2 separate regions of the Homo sapiens genome follow, and region 1 is linked to region 2. Evidence: promoter capture Hi-C in human tissues and cell types (Jung and others, 2019). All regions are on one chromosome and are shown on one strand. The core of a region is centred on a gene start or on the middle of the fragment in contact, and the rest is flanking DNA. Distances in the headings are between cores, read along the strand shown. Region 1 overlaps CACHD1 (cache domain containing 1). Region 2 holds the start of JAK1 (Janus kinase 1).

Region 1 (6,026 bases), core at 337-2,836, 280 kb before region 2:
TATGTACAACTCAGGGAGGAAAAAAGAGCATTTTCTTTATCAAAAGAGATTTCCATTAGTGTTAAGACACCCTGGCCTTCAGCTACTAGACCATAGCTTCCTGATGCACGTTGGAGATATATAATTAAATACCTCTCACTGCACCAGTTCTAAAATCAGCACCCCAATCCCCAGAATTGTTTAAAAAATGATTTATTCTGGCTTTCCAAAGAGAATTCTCCCAGCATGTAAATGAGCCCTCTCAGAGCAAATGTGTTTGAAACAATGGAGATACTGGCATAAGAGTGACATTAACTGTCCTTGGCTTCCTACAGTCAGCAACACTCGGTTTATAGCTGCGGTCATCGAACGACATGCACACAGTCCAGAAAGAAGGCGCCGCTACTGGGGTCGATCAGGAACAGAAAGTGATCATGGTAAGGTCTAGCTTCCTGCATTTGAAGACCCAAGGAACCTCATGTACTCCTGTGGGATGATGCTCACACCCTATTTTGACATGGTTTTCCAAAAAGACACACCCCAGCATGCCACTGGTTTATAAGAGCCCGAGGACAGTTTTACTTATGTCTCAGCACTCCTCTGGGCACACAGATTGCTTTCAAGTTTTTCTCCATACAGAAGGATTCATATTGTTTAAATGGAGCCTGCTTGCCATCCCACTTGCTTTTCCATAAAATCAGCATCCTCTTAGGTCCCGCTCTCCAGTGTTGGCTGGCAAACAGCAGGATCTTTAAGGGCTTTTTCAGTCATGTCCCCTTGGGGCATGACAAGAATCTGTGCTGTCCTCCAGCATTCTCTTGCCCTGACCTCTGGCATGGTCTGGGGAGCTCAGAGAAGGCTTCACCAAAGAAGCAAGAAGCAACATTTGCACTGAGCCTTGAGGGGGTGATTAAAGAAAAGGTAGGGGCAAAGAATATTAGAGGCCAAAGGACCAGTGTTTACAAAGTCATGGAGTTGTGTAAGTGCCTGTAAGATGCTCAGGAAGGGTCAAGGCCAAATCATGAAGAGGCGCCGAGTGCTAGGTAACTTATGAAATCCACCTACTCTGCCAAAGACTTGGCCATCCCACATGGCTTCTCTCCTTCTCAGAGTCCATATCGCTCATTGTTGCAAAGAACAGCAGATGTATCCCAGTCTATAAGCATCACTGCCACAGTTCCACAAAAATATAACAGATGTGGGTAGTGTTTTTCCTGCCATTGTAAAATCTTTTTTTTTTTTTAAGATAGCTGTTTAATTTTCCAGAAATCTGTATTTTCCTCCTAGAATCAAGTCCTTTTTTAAATACATAAATAGTGTATTTAAGCCTTTTTGACTTAGCTTTTTCCACACCTATCCTGGAAAAAAAAAGTCCTCAAACCTTGTATTCCCTGTATCTACACTAAAAAATGCAAAAATAGATACTCCTCAGAGCAACCAACGTCACCATTTACACTACAGCCAGGTCTTCAAACTCCCTTTGGCAAATAAGAGCAGCTAAAGCTCTGTTTTATAAATTGGAGACTGTTAATTTGGGCTTTGAATGACATTATTCCCACCAACTAAATAGAAACTTCAGGTTTCTATGGAGAACCACAGCAGAACTTAAATTTCTCAGTTTCTTTGACTTTTTTGCTTTTTTCTCTACAAACCTTTGAACTTGCATAAATTCCTGCTGCCAGGCAGTTCTGTGCCTTCTCGTTTGAATAATAAAACAGGTTTGAGGCTACTAAAGTTCAACAGAAATAATTTCTTATTCAGCAGAAATACTGAATCCTTTTCTCTCTCTGAAATACTGAATCCTTTTTCTCTCTGTTCCTCAATAGGAATTGCATCAATACCAAATTAGGATTCTGAGTGATGTTTATGACGTTCCATTAGCCTCTCCCATTGTCTCAGTAAAATGGCATATGAAGCAACAGCTTAGATAAAAGGAAGGGTGCAGTGTCAGTATCTGAACACTAAGGCATCCAGCTAAGGGCTTGGTTCCTTTCATTTTTCTCCATAATTGGATCCATGTTATCCCCAAGGTATGAAAAATAGTTTCTCATGCAGACAGAATGCAACACCAAAAGAAGGGGAAGGCATTGACACTCCCCATATTCCAAATGCATCATAAAATCAATAGAATTTAAATGCGTGTTGGCATCCTTTGAACCAGTACGTGGGTCACTAAAAATGGTGACATTGAGTTAATGTCCCTGTGATGCCTAGAGGCAAAGCTACATACACCCATTAAACAAGGAAATCTAATTGTTTTGTTGGCACACTTCTTGCTCATCTGTGTATGCTCTACTCTCCTATTTGGTGGATGTATTGGCATCTGCTATGCACAGTTATGCACTGCATAACAACACTTCGCATATACTACAGGGGTCCCATGAGATTATAATGGAGCTGAAAAATTTCTATTGCCTAGTGATATCTTGATGATCCTGACCCTGTGTAGGCCTGGGCTAATGTGTGTGTTTGTGTCTTAGTTTTTTTGTGTGTGTGCTTTATTTTTTGAGACGGAGTCTCGCTCTTGTCACCCAGGCTGGAGTGCAAAGGTGCGATCTCAGCTCACTGCACTTCAAAACTGTATCATTCCTTACATATCAAGGATCTCATTTGTGGTAAAAATTTTTTTTGGTATTTTATCGCCATTTAGTCATATTCGTGGATTTTCTTTGTTTTTTCTTCTTCTTCTTCTTCTTTTTTTTTTTTTTTTTTTTTGGAGACACTGTGTCTTAGTTTTTTAATGAAGGAGTTTAAAAAGTGAAATGTAAAAATTTTTAAACTAGAAAAAAGCTTATAGAATAAGGATATAACAAAAGGAAATATTTTTGCACAGCTGTACAATGTGTCTGTATTTTAACCTGTTATTACAAAATAGTCAAAAAGTTTTAAAAGTTTAAAAGTTTATAAAGCAAAAAAGTTACAGTAAGCAAAGGTTTATTATTGAAGAAAGAAAAAAGTTTAATAAATTTAGAGTAGCCTAAATATATAGTGTTTATAAAGTCTACAGTAGTGTACACTGATGTCCTAGGCCTTCACATTCACTCACCAGTCACTCACTGGCTCACACAGAACAACTACCAATCCTGCAAGCTCCATTTATGGTAAGTGCTCTATATAGGTGTACCTTTTTTGTTTTTTGTTTTTTGTTTTTTGTTTTGAGACAGAGTTTTGCTCTTGTCGCCCAGGCTGGAGTGCAATGGTGCGATCTCGGCTCACCACAACCTCCACCTCCTGGGTTCAAGCGATTCTCCTGCTTCAGCCTCCCAAGTAACTGGGATTACAGGCACATGCCACCATGCCCGGCTAATTTTGTATTTTTGGAAGAGACTGGGTTTTTCCATGTTGGTCAGGCTGGTCTCGAACTCCCAACCTCAGGTGATCCGCCCACCCCAGCCTCGCAATGTGTTGAGATTACAGGCGTGAGCCACTGCGCCCGGCCACAGGTGTACCATTTTAAAAAATCTTTTATACGGTATTTTTCTGGTACCTCTTCTATGTTTAGATATATAAATACCTATAGTATTACCTACAGTATTGTGTACAATTGTGTTTTAGTTGCCTACAGTATTCAGTGCAGTAACATGTGGCACAGGTTTGTAGCCTAGAAGAATAGGCTATGCCATATAGCCGAGGTGTGTAGTAGGCTGTATCATCTAGGTTTGTGAAAGTACACTCTGTGACATTTGTGCAATGATGAAATTACCTAAGGACACATTTCTCATAATGTATCTCTGTCATTACACAAGACATGACTGTACCCTTGTACACTGTGGAGGTGGAGGGGGCTACAGATGGGAGTTGTTACTTCCTCAAGACAGCTTGGTGTAGAGGAAGAGCTTAGGAGATAGGGTAAAGCCAGTTCACTTTGAAGCCTACTTCTCCCCCTTTTTTTTCCACAAGCTGTTGAGACCTTAGTGAGCTACCTTAGACCTGAGTTTCCTAACACTTAAGGTAGGATTAAAAATTTTTACTGCAGTCTGGGCAATATGGTGAGACCCTGTCTCTACAAAATAAAAAAATTAGCCAGGCATGGTGGTACGTGCCTGTAGTCCCAGCTACTCGGGAGACTGAGGTGGGAAGATCACTTGAGCCCAGGAGGTCAAGGTTGCAGTGAGCCATGTTAGCACCACTGCACTCTAGCCAAGAACTCTTTGAGCTCTTTGAGACAGGGCTGTCTCAAAAAAAAAAGAAAAAAAAAATGCTGGGTGGAGTTGCAATGAGGATGAAATGAAATGACATATGATAGGCACGGTGCTCAGGGTTGACCTCCCTACCTCTGTGCCCACCCTGCCCTGAAGAAATTTACAGTCTAGGAGGAAGCTATAAATGAATGCATGTATTCATATGCTTGATAAAAGGTGGAATATGACAGCTTCCTTAAAAGAGTAAAACAAAGAAGGAAAGGGGTGAGAGTTCACTTTTATCTGCGAGTAAATTATGGGAAACCCCATGGAGGAACATGGCATTGACTGGCCCTTGAACTGGTAGGATTGTGGCGTCATGATTCTCTGCTCCCTGATAAGCGTATTTCCATGTGAATCCTTGAGTGTGTTACACAAAAGGAAACTCAAAAGAATTAAGTCTATAAATACATGACTACACAACGGCCTCGGCTCTCATGGTATGAGTTCAGAGTTGTGATCCTAGAATTGAATGAAAATTGAATGTTACCAAACTAAACTTAGAAACTTTAGGGTGTATTTTTATTTAGAAATATTTTATGTGGCCAACAGAATTTCGTTTTTCAAAAGAATCTAATTTTAATTGTTGTATCTTAAGAAAAACTACTCCAATTGAGAATGTTTTTTGAAAGTAGAATCATTTTGGCCCATAGTCTAAGACCACTTAGAATGATTGATTTTCAGCAGTGTTACCCTCACAAGTGGAGGTTAGAAACAATTACTACCTGTGTGTGTTTTCAACTATCTATCTGCTTTGCCCATTTCTCTTAAAAATATCATGTTCTGTCCAATCATCTATTGGCTTATTTTTAAGTCAAAAAACACCTGTACGTTATTTGTTCCTTGTGAATTTGTATTTTGGTTACTATCTCATCAGAAACTTTATGTAAGTGTATATTAGGCAACATTTTTTTCTTTGTAGAGGAAGATTTCTCCCTAGTTTGTGGCAAATTCCAAAATACTTAAAAAGCAAATGCTGAACCTTAAAAACCTGGTCAAAAAACTTTGTAGATGAACGTAAGACCATTTTCTAGAGGTGCACAAACATTCTCCTGCAGTTACTCTCTGTGGCCACGAGATGGTGAGTGAGTCCCCAGAGGGACGTCACACCCCTTATAATCAAACAAAGTTTCTTAGGAACTATCAGATAAATATATAAGCAGACTGTCAAAGAACAAAAACCTAATCTCGGCTCTTTTTGATAGATGCCTGACCTCCTTTCTAAAGCCCATTTCCCACTTGAGATTGTATTTGCAGACACTTTGCTACATAAGCCTTTGGATAGTAAATAAATTTTTCCTTGAAAGTGTTTGCAAATATCCTTTGTGTTTCAAATAGTGCGTCTTCCTCCATGAGTCAGGGACTATGTCTGTCTTAATTCATCACCCTTCCCAGTGCTCAGCAGAACTGCCTGGCACTGAGTAAACAATTAATTTGTTGAATACGAAAATGTGTTTGTCTTTCTCCTGCTTTTCCACAACTTGCTATTCCCTTCTCCCCTGACCTCTTCAGATTTCCATTAATGATTGAAATAAGAGGAAGTTACAGAGGAGTTGAGCAATGGTATCATAGTAAGGAAATTAAATGGAATGCCCTTAGTATGAGAGTTTTACTCTGAAAGCACCTCTGTTGAGGTTCCTATCAGAAAGCAGTAGCAGAAGAGATGGGGGTGCCATCCTGAGATGAAGAGATGGGTGCCCTCCTGAGTTGCCTTGGAGACAGCTGCACCATCACTACCGTCCTGGATGTGAACCCAGGACCTGTGACCAGCCAGGTTCAGAGTGTCACTGGACTCTGTCATAACCCATGGACAGAGTCCAGTGTATCCTAGAATGTCTGCATTATTAGATGAGACTAGTGAATGTT
Region 2 (6,039 bases), core at 1,444-3,943:
GGGGGGCTGTCTTGTGCGTTATAGGATGTTTAGTAGCATCCCTAGCCTCTAACCACTAGATGCCTACCAGTAGCACCGCTCCCTTCCCCCAAGTTGTAACAACCAAAAATGTCTCCAGAAACTGCAAATATCTCATTGGGTGCAAAATCATACCCTTACTAGTCTAAAAAAATCTGAAAGTTCCTTCCAACACTCCTGTTCAATGACAAGGTTCCATATACCACTGAGCCACAATAATCACAGAACATCCAATGTTCCTTCTTCAGCGAGATTCCATTAATAAGCCAATTCCCCATCCACTTAAAATAATGGTTTTAAATGTGAAAATGAACAAGAAAAATTTATTTGTATGAATATTCACATCTCAGACAATAAATCTTCTAACAGCATGCTATTATCTTATCAGGACATAAGGACATACAAAATGGGATGTGTCTTTGAGGGGAAAAAAACACCAGAGGAATCTGAGAATTAGAAAACACAGATCATGGTCTTTGCTATGCAGTTATACCTTAGTGTTCTCTTGTTCTCTCTACACAAATGAGTATCAACCTACACGTTCTCAATGCTTGTTTCAGTCGGAAGTATATGGCTTTAGCCAAGCTCATGTTAAGATCCTAAATTACAACAACTGAAATGTAGTTATATTTTAGGAAATGTTTGAATTATTTTACCTATATCTAATTTATGCATTCTCTACAATCATTTCCCAATGGTAGTAAATAATTAGTATAGTATGAAATGGAGGAAACCATTTAAACTGGCTGTATTCAGTGTGGAGTATCACACTGCAATCCTAGCAGTAAAAAAACATAGTTTTGTATCTATTTGCAGAAACTAAGACTCAGTCAAAGCACTTAGTTAATATGATATACAGAATTAAGAAGAGGTTATGATTATTCCTATTTATAATGTCCAAAGTCATTCCAGTATGATGTCTTCACATCTTTAAATGTGATCTGGATCTATACAGGGGAGACATTTTCTCCACATTACAAAGCATATTGTACCAGAAATGTCTGGAACCCTGGTGGTCTCCATTAATCTTCACCACAAAGTACAAAAGAACACATTGATCCTTCAATGAAAATAATCCCCTGGTCTTGGAAAACATCAGAGTCACCAAAAGCAAAATCAAGAAACAACACATAATGGGGTTTTGGAAAGGGAAGAACAAAGATTCAATCAATACGAATTGCTCATCTTAAACAAAATCTACTGTGCCTATACCCATATTTAACTCAAATCTTTTCTTCAAAAAATAAAAAAATAGCCAAAACCAAACACGCCCTGATTTACATCTCTCTCTGCATTATTCTCATCACTTAACTACCCATGTTTTACTCCCTGAAAGAAGTAATGACAATTTTATACCACTGTAAATTCCTGCCAGTGAGAGAAAAACCCTATGACTTGGGGGGAAAAGTGTCAATGACATGTATAGCGATGTACTCAACCAGGGGCAGAAGGCAGCTCACAGCCACGTAGTAAGAAGAGTGGCAGGAAGGACGGGGTCCCCTTCCCCAGGAACACACAGGAAATCATGGAGTGCAAACCCTCCAAAAAACGTGTGCACAAACACCTGGCAAACATCGCATCTTTTATCTAGAAGTTCCGTGGTAAACACACATCCAAGGAGCCCACATCCCAGGGACCCTGGGGAGTGACTTTGGAGGAGTGTCTATTAGTCCTCCGATGCTCCCGGTCGCCGACGATGCGCGGATGGAGTTGGAGTGAGGGAGCCAGAGACCAGCCCCAGTTTCGGTTAATCAGTCCCTTTCCAGTGGGATTCGCAATTCCCCGGGTAGTTCTCTCCCACTGTTCCCCTTCCCTGGTCCTCTCGCCCAGGGTCTCCTTTCCCACTTCTCGCTGGCTACCTGAGGCCTGGTTCCTAACAGAACCTAAGAGGGGAGGGGGCGTTTCCCGAGTTCGCGGACGCCCAACACCCAGCTCCAAATCCCAGAAACTTTCCCTCGCTGAGACCGCAAGGAAGGAAAAAAGCTAAGACCCTCAGCCTCCTTCCTGGGGCCGAAGAAGAAAACCTTTCTGCGCTGCCACCCCGGCCGGGAGCTGGCGGTCAAGTTCGCGGTACAAGGAGCTAGGGACGTCAGCCCTCCAGCCCGCGCCTGTATCTCGGGGTGGTATAAACAGGATGTCAGACAGCGCGCTCCGGGCTTGTTTATGAAAACTTGCCGTGCGCGCTGGGGGAGGGGGCGGCCTGGCTTAACCGCTCTTCTCCCGGCCGGGGGCCCCCGCCCGGCGACCTCCTCGCCGCCCGCCGGCTCCGCGGGGCTGGAAATCCCCGCCTTCCCCGCCCGAGCCGCGGGGTCCTGAGCTGCGCTCAGGAGCAGCCCGGGCCGCGCAGCCTAAGGACCGACCAAGAGCGGTGGCCGCGCCTCCGGCCAGTCCGGGCTGCGCGCCCCTCGCCTGCCGACCGCGGCCGCCCCGGCTCCTCCACCTCCCCCGGTGACACTCACCACTTCCGTGTGCGCCTGGGCCAGGCAGCGCCCCGTCGCTGCGCTGGCTGGGGTCGACCGGCAGGCTCGCTAGGCGGCCAGCCCCGCGGGGCCCCAGCGTGCGCGCGCCCAGGGCTGAGGAGGGGTCGCGGCGAGGACAGCCGGGACTGGGCGCAGGCCCGCACTGTCTGCAGCTCCAGGATACTCCGCGGCCGCCGCGGCCTGCGCTCAGCGACGCACCGCCTCCCGTCCCGCCCCGCCCCGCCCCGCGGCCGGCCCCACCCCCGTGGCCGCCGGGCCCACCCCCTCGCGACGTCACCAGCGGCAGCCCCGGAAAGCGGGGCGGGGTCGCGGTCCCGGCGGAGACTCTGCGCCTCCGGCCTACCCGCCCCGCCCCCATCCGGCTTCGCTCGCGAAGCTGCCCCCACTCGTCTCTGTTCACCGCGTCCTCTAGATTCTAGAATCTAGAAACTCATCTAGGACGCGAGGTCATCTATCGCGGGGAGTAAAATTGCCAGGATTCGCCCGTAGATTGACCCCTCCCAGCTCTGGAGCCCCCTCCGCCACACCTTTGTGCGCTCGATGCAGAAATGCATCCCGCCTCCTCCGTATACGCTCCGCTTCTTACCCCAGCTCAGTAGGAGAGGAGCTAGTGGAGCACTAGACTAAAAAGAATTTAACAATACAGCCCCCAGCTTGGACAAGCTACTGCAGATCCAACCCATTCCGTATTTTAAAAGCTCTTTACGAAAAAAAAAAAAGCATATGCATAATAGGAATTAGAACTACATTCACTGATACCTAATGCATGTACAGCGCTTTTCATTTTTTACTAATAACCTCTCAAAGTAGTAGCATCATCTTATCCATGAGGAACAAATTAAGTCTTTAGTGTCTTAATCAAGGTCACACTGTAGCCAAGATTCATACTTCGTAGGCAGTCCACGGACAAATCCTAACAATTTTATTTCCTTAGGTATCTCTCCAATCAGTTCACTTGTCTATGTTCCGGCAACACGGTCCGAGCTGCCACCATCTCTCACCTGAAGGGACCACGAACATCTCTTAAATCGTCACTCCATTCACTCCAGCCCCCAATTAATTCTCTACAATGAACTTTTAAAAATTCAAATCTGTTCCACACACTCCCATGCTTAAAACACTCCAGCGACTTCCCCCTGACAATCCCTGGATGAAAATCCTCCGAGGCCGTGCACGGTCAGAATTCTGCAGCTTCAGGGCTGTGGACAGAGGCTGCCCCACCTGTGCTGACTTCACTAACCCTGCTGGACAGTTCCTGATCACTTGAGTTACTGCAACTGAAACTGAGCAAGATATTCTGGGTGTGGAATAAAGTCAAGCATCCGAATTAGACTACTGAATTTGAGGTTTGGCCTCCACCAGTAACCACCTGTGTTGCCCTAAACAATTCTTAGTTGACTCAATTCTCAGTGGAGCAGCAGACAAAAGGATCTCCAAAGTGCCTTCCAGAAGTACAGAAAAGAGGACCAAAGAAGACCGGAGATCAGAGCAGACAGGGAGGCAACCCGGGTTGCCTGCATTGTGGGTGTTTGTGTGCAAGTCTTGTCTCATCTGCCACACTCTGAACAACACCTCAGGGCTGTTTGCATCATTTTCTTCACCTGTTAAATAGGGATAATGCCTTCCTTAAAGGGGTTTTGCTGAAGGTGAACTATGATAATATAGCCCACATGGCATGGGCTCAGGAAGTGGTAGGGGTTTTTATTGAGCTGGACCATAAAGAACAGGTGAGACTGACATGAAGGGAGACAGAGACGTGAAAGAACAGCATTTCAGGTGAGGATGTAAAGAAAAAGGAAAGTCAGGAAGGCAGCAGTGAACCCATTGTGCCCACGAACGAATCTGGCTGTTCACAGGGTGGAATCAGGGGGAGAGGGCCTGGATTCAGTTTAGATCTGTTCGTCTATAACAGACATTGTGCTAGGTGATGAAGATTCAGAGAAAAAAAAAATAGACTAGGTTCCTGACCTCTGAATGCTCAATGCAGTCAGAGAGACAGGCAAGTAACAATTCAGTGATTCCCGGTCCTGTAATGGTGATCACAGAAGACAGTCACCCAGCCGAGTCTGAGGAAGTCAGAATAAGCTTCAAGTAGCCGACAGGAGGCAGGAGTCAGGAGGTAGCGGCATATTCAGGCAGTAATAGTATATGCTGGCTGGGTGTGGCGGCTCATGCCTGTAATCTCAGCACTTTGGGAGGCTGAGGCAGGAGGACTGCTTGAGGCCAGGAGTTTGACACCAACTTGGGCAACACAGCAAGACCCTGTCTCTAAAATAAAAACAAACAAACAAACAAAGGCCAGGTGCAGTGGCTCACGCCTGTAATCCCAGCACTTTGGGAGGCCGAGGTGGGCCAATCACTTGAGGTCAGGAGTTTGAGACCAGCCTGGCCAACATGGCGAAACCCCATCTCTACTAAAAATACAAAAATTAGCTGGACGTGGTGGCGGGAACCTGTAATCTCAGCTACTTGGGAGACTGAGGCACAAGAATCGCTTGAAGCCGGGAGGCAGAGTTTGCAGTGAGCTGAGATTGTGCCACTGCACTCCAGCCTGGGCGACAGAGCGAGACTCCCTCTCAAAAAAAAAAAAAAAAAAAAAAAGGTAAACTAGCTGGGCATGGTGGCACATGCCTGTATTTCCGACTACTTGGGAGGCTGATGCTGGAGGATCACTTGAGCCCAGGAGTTTGAGGCTGCAGTGAGCTAGGATCACACCACTGCACTTTAGCCTGGGCAACAGAGTGAGACCCCTTCTCTTAAAAAAAAAAAATAAGTATATGCTGTGTGACTGGGGAATGAGAAAAGTTGAATCCCATGCAAAAACTTTTGCCTAAAATAAAATAGTGGGTTTTTTTTTTTGAGAGATTTAAGGTTTTTGTTTTAGAAGAATCACCCTAGGGCAAGGGCTCTCAACCTCAGCACTATTGACATTGTGGGCTGGAAAATTCTTGTTGTAGTGGGGGTGTCCTGTGCATTGTAGGATGTTTAGCAGCATCTCTGACCTCTGACTACTAGGTGCTAGTAGCAAGTCCTCTTGTTCCCCCATCACACCCCCCCGCAACTCCCCACCCTCCTCCTTTCCCAGCTGTGACTTCCAAAAATGTCTTCAGACGTTGCCAAATGTCCCCTGGGGTGCAAAATCACACCCCACTGAGAACCACTAGTCTAGGGATAATGTGGAAGATGAATTGGAGGGCAAGGAGATTAATTACATGTCATTGTAAAACTGCAAGCTGCGAGAGATGACAGCCTATCTAAGGCAGTGGACTGGGGAAGGATACTGAGGAAGATGCAAAAGGCCTGAGGAGATAGAATGGACAGTGCTTGGTGACTGATTAGATGTGGCTACTGAGGCAGAGAGAGGAATCTCGCATGACTCCCAAATTTTCTGAATTGGTTAATAAGCTGACCAAGGATGCCACCGACTGGATGCCACCGACTAAACAGGATAAGAAATTCAGTTTTATGTTTGAGAAGAGGAAAGTTTTAAACAGTCACTGAGCCAGGCGTGGTGGCTTAGACCTGTAATCCCAGCATTTTG

What was found. Contacts are between HindIII fragments. The study calls those that stand out against the background at their distance.
Region 1: a contact is called between a fragment that was not itself captured here and the fragment with the promoter of JAK1 in region 2, in 1 of the 25 tissues and cell types used here (H1 embryonic stem cells).

Annotation. Positions count from the first base shown.
Region 1 is chr1:64,681,691-64,687,716 of GRCh38, forward strand. It overlaps CACHD1 (cache domain containing 1), which reads left to right. Exons shown (of 27, transcript NM_020925.4): 26 at 315-416. Among named protein-coding and RNA genes, the nearest start is that of RAVER2, 60 kb to the right of the region's middle. The HindIII fragment of the contact is 5,949 bases long and covers 1-4,561 here.
Region 2 is chr1:64,963,856-64,969,894 of GRCh38, forward strand. It overlaps JAK1 (Janus kinase 1), which reads right to left and starts at 2,694. Exons shown (of 25, transcript NM_002227.4): 1 at 2,478-2,694. RefSeq lists a silencer at 2,039-2,918. The HindIII fragment of the contact is 20,952 bases long and covers 1-6,039 here.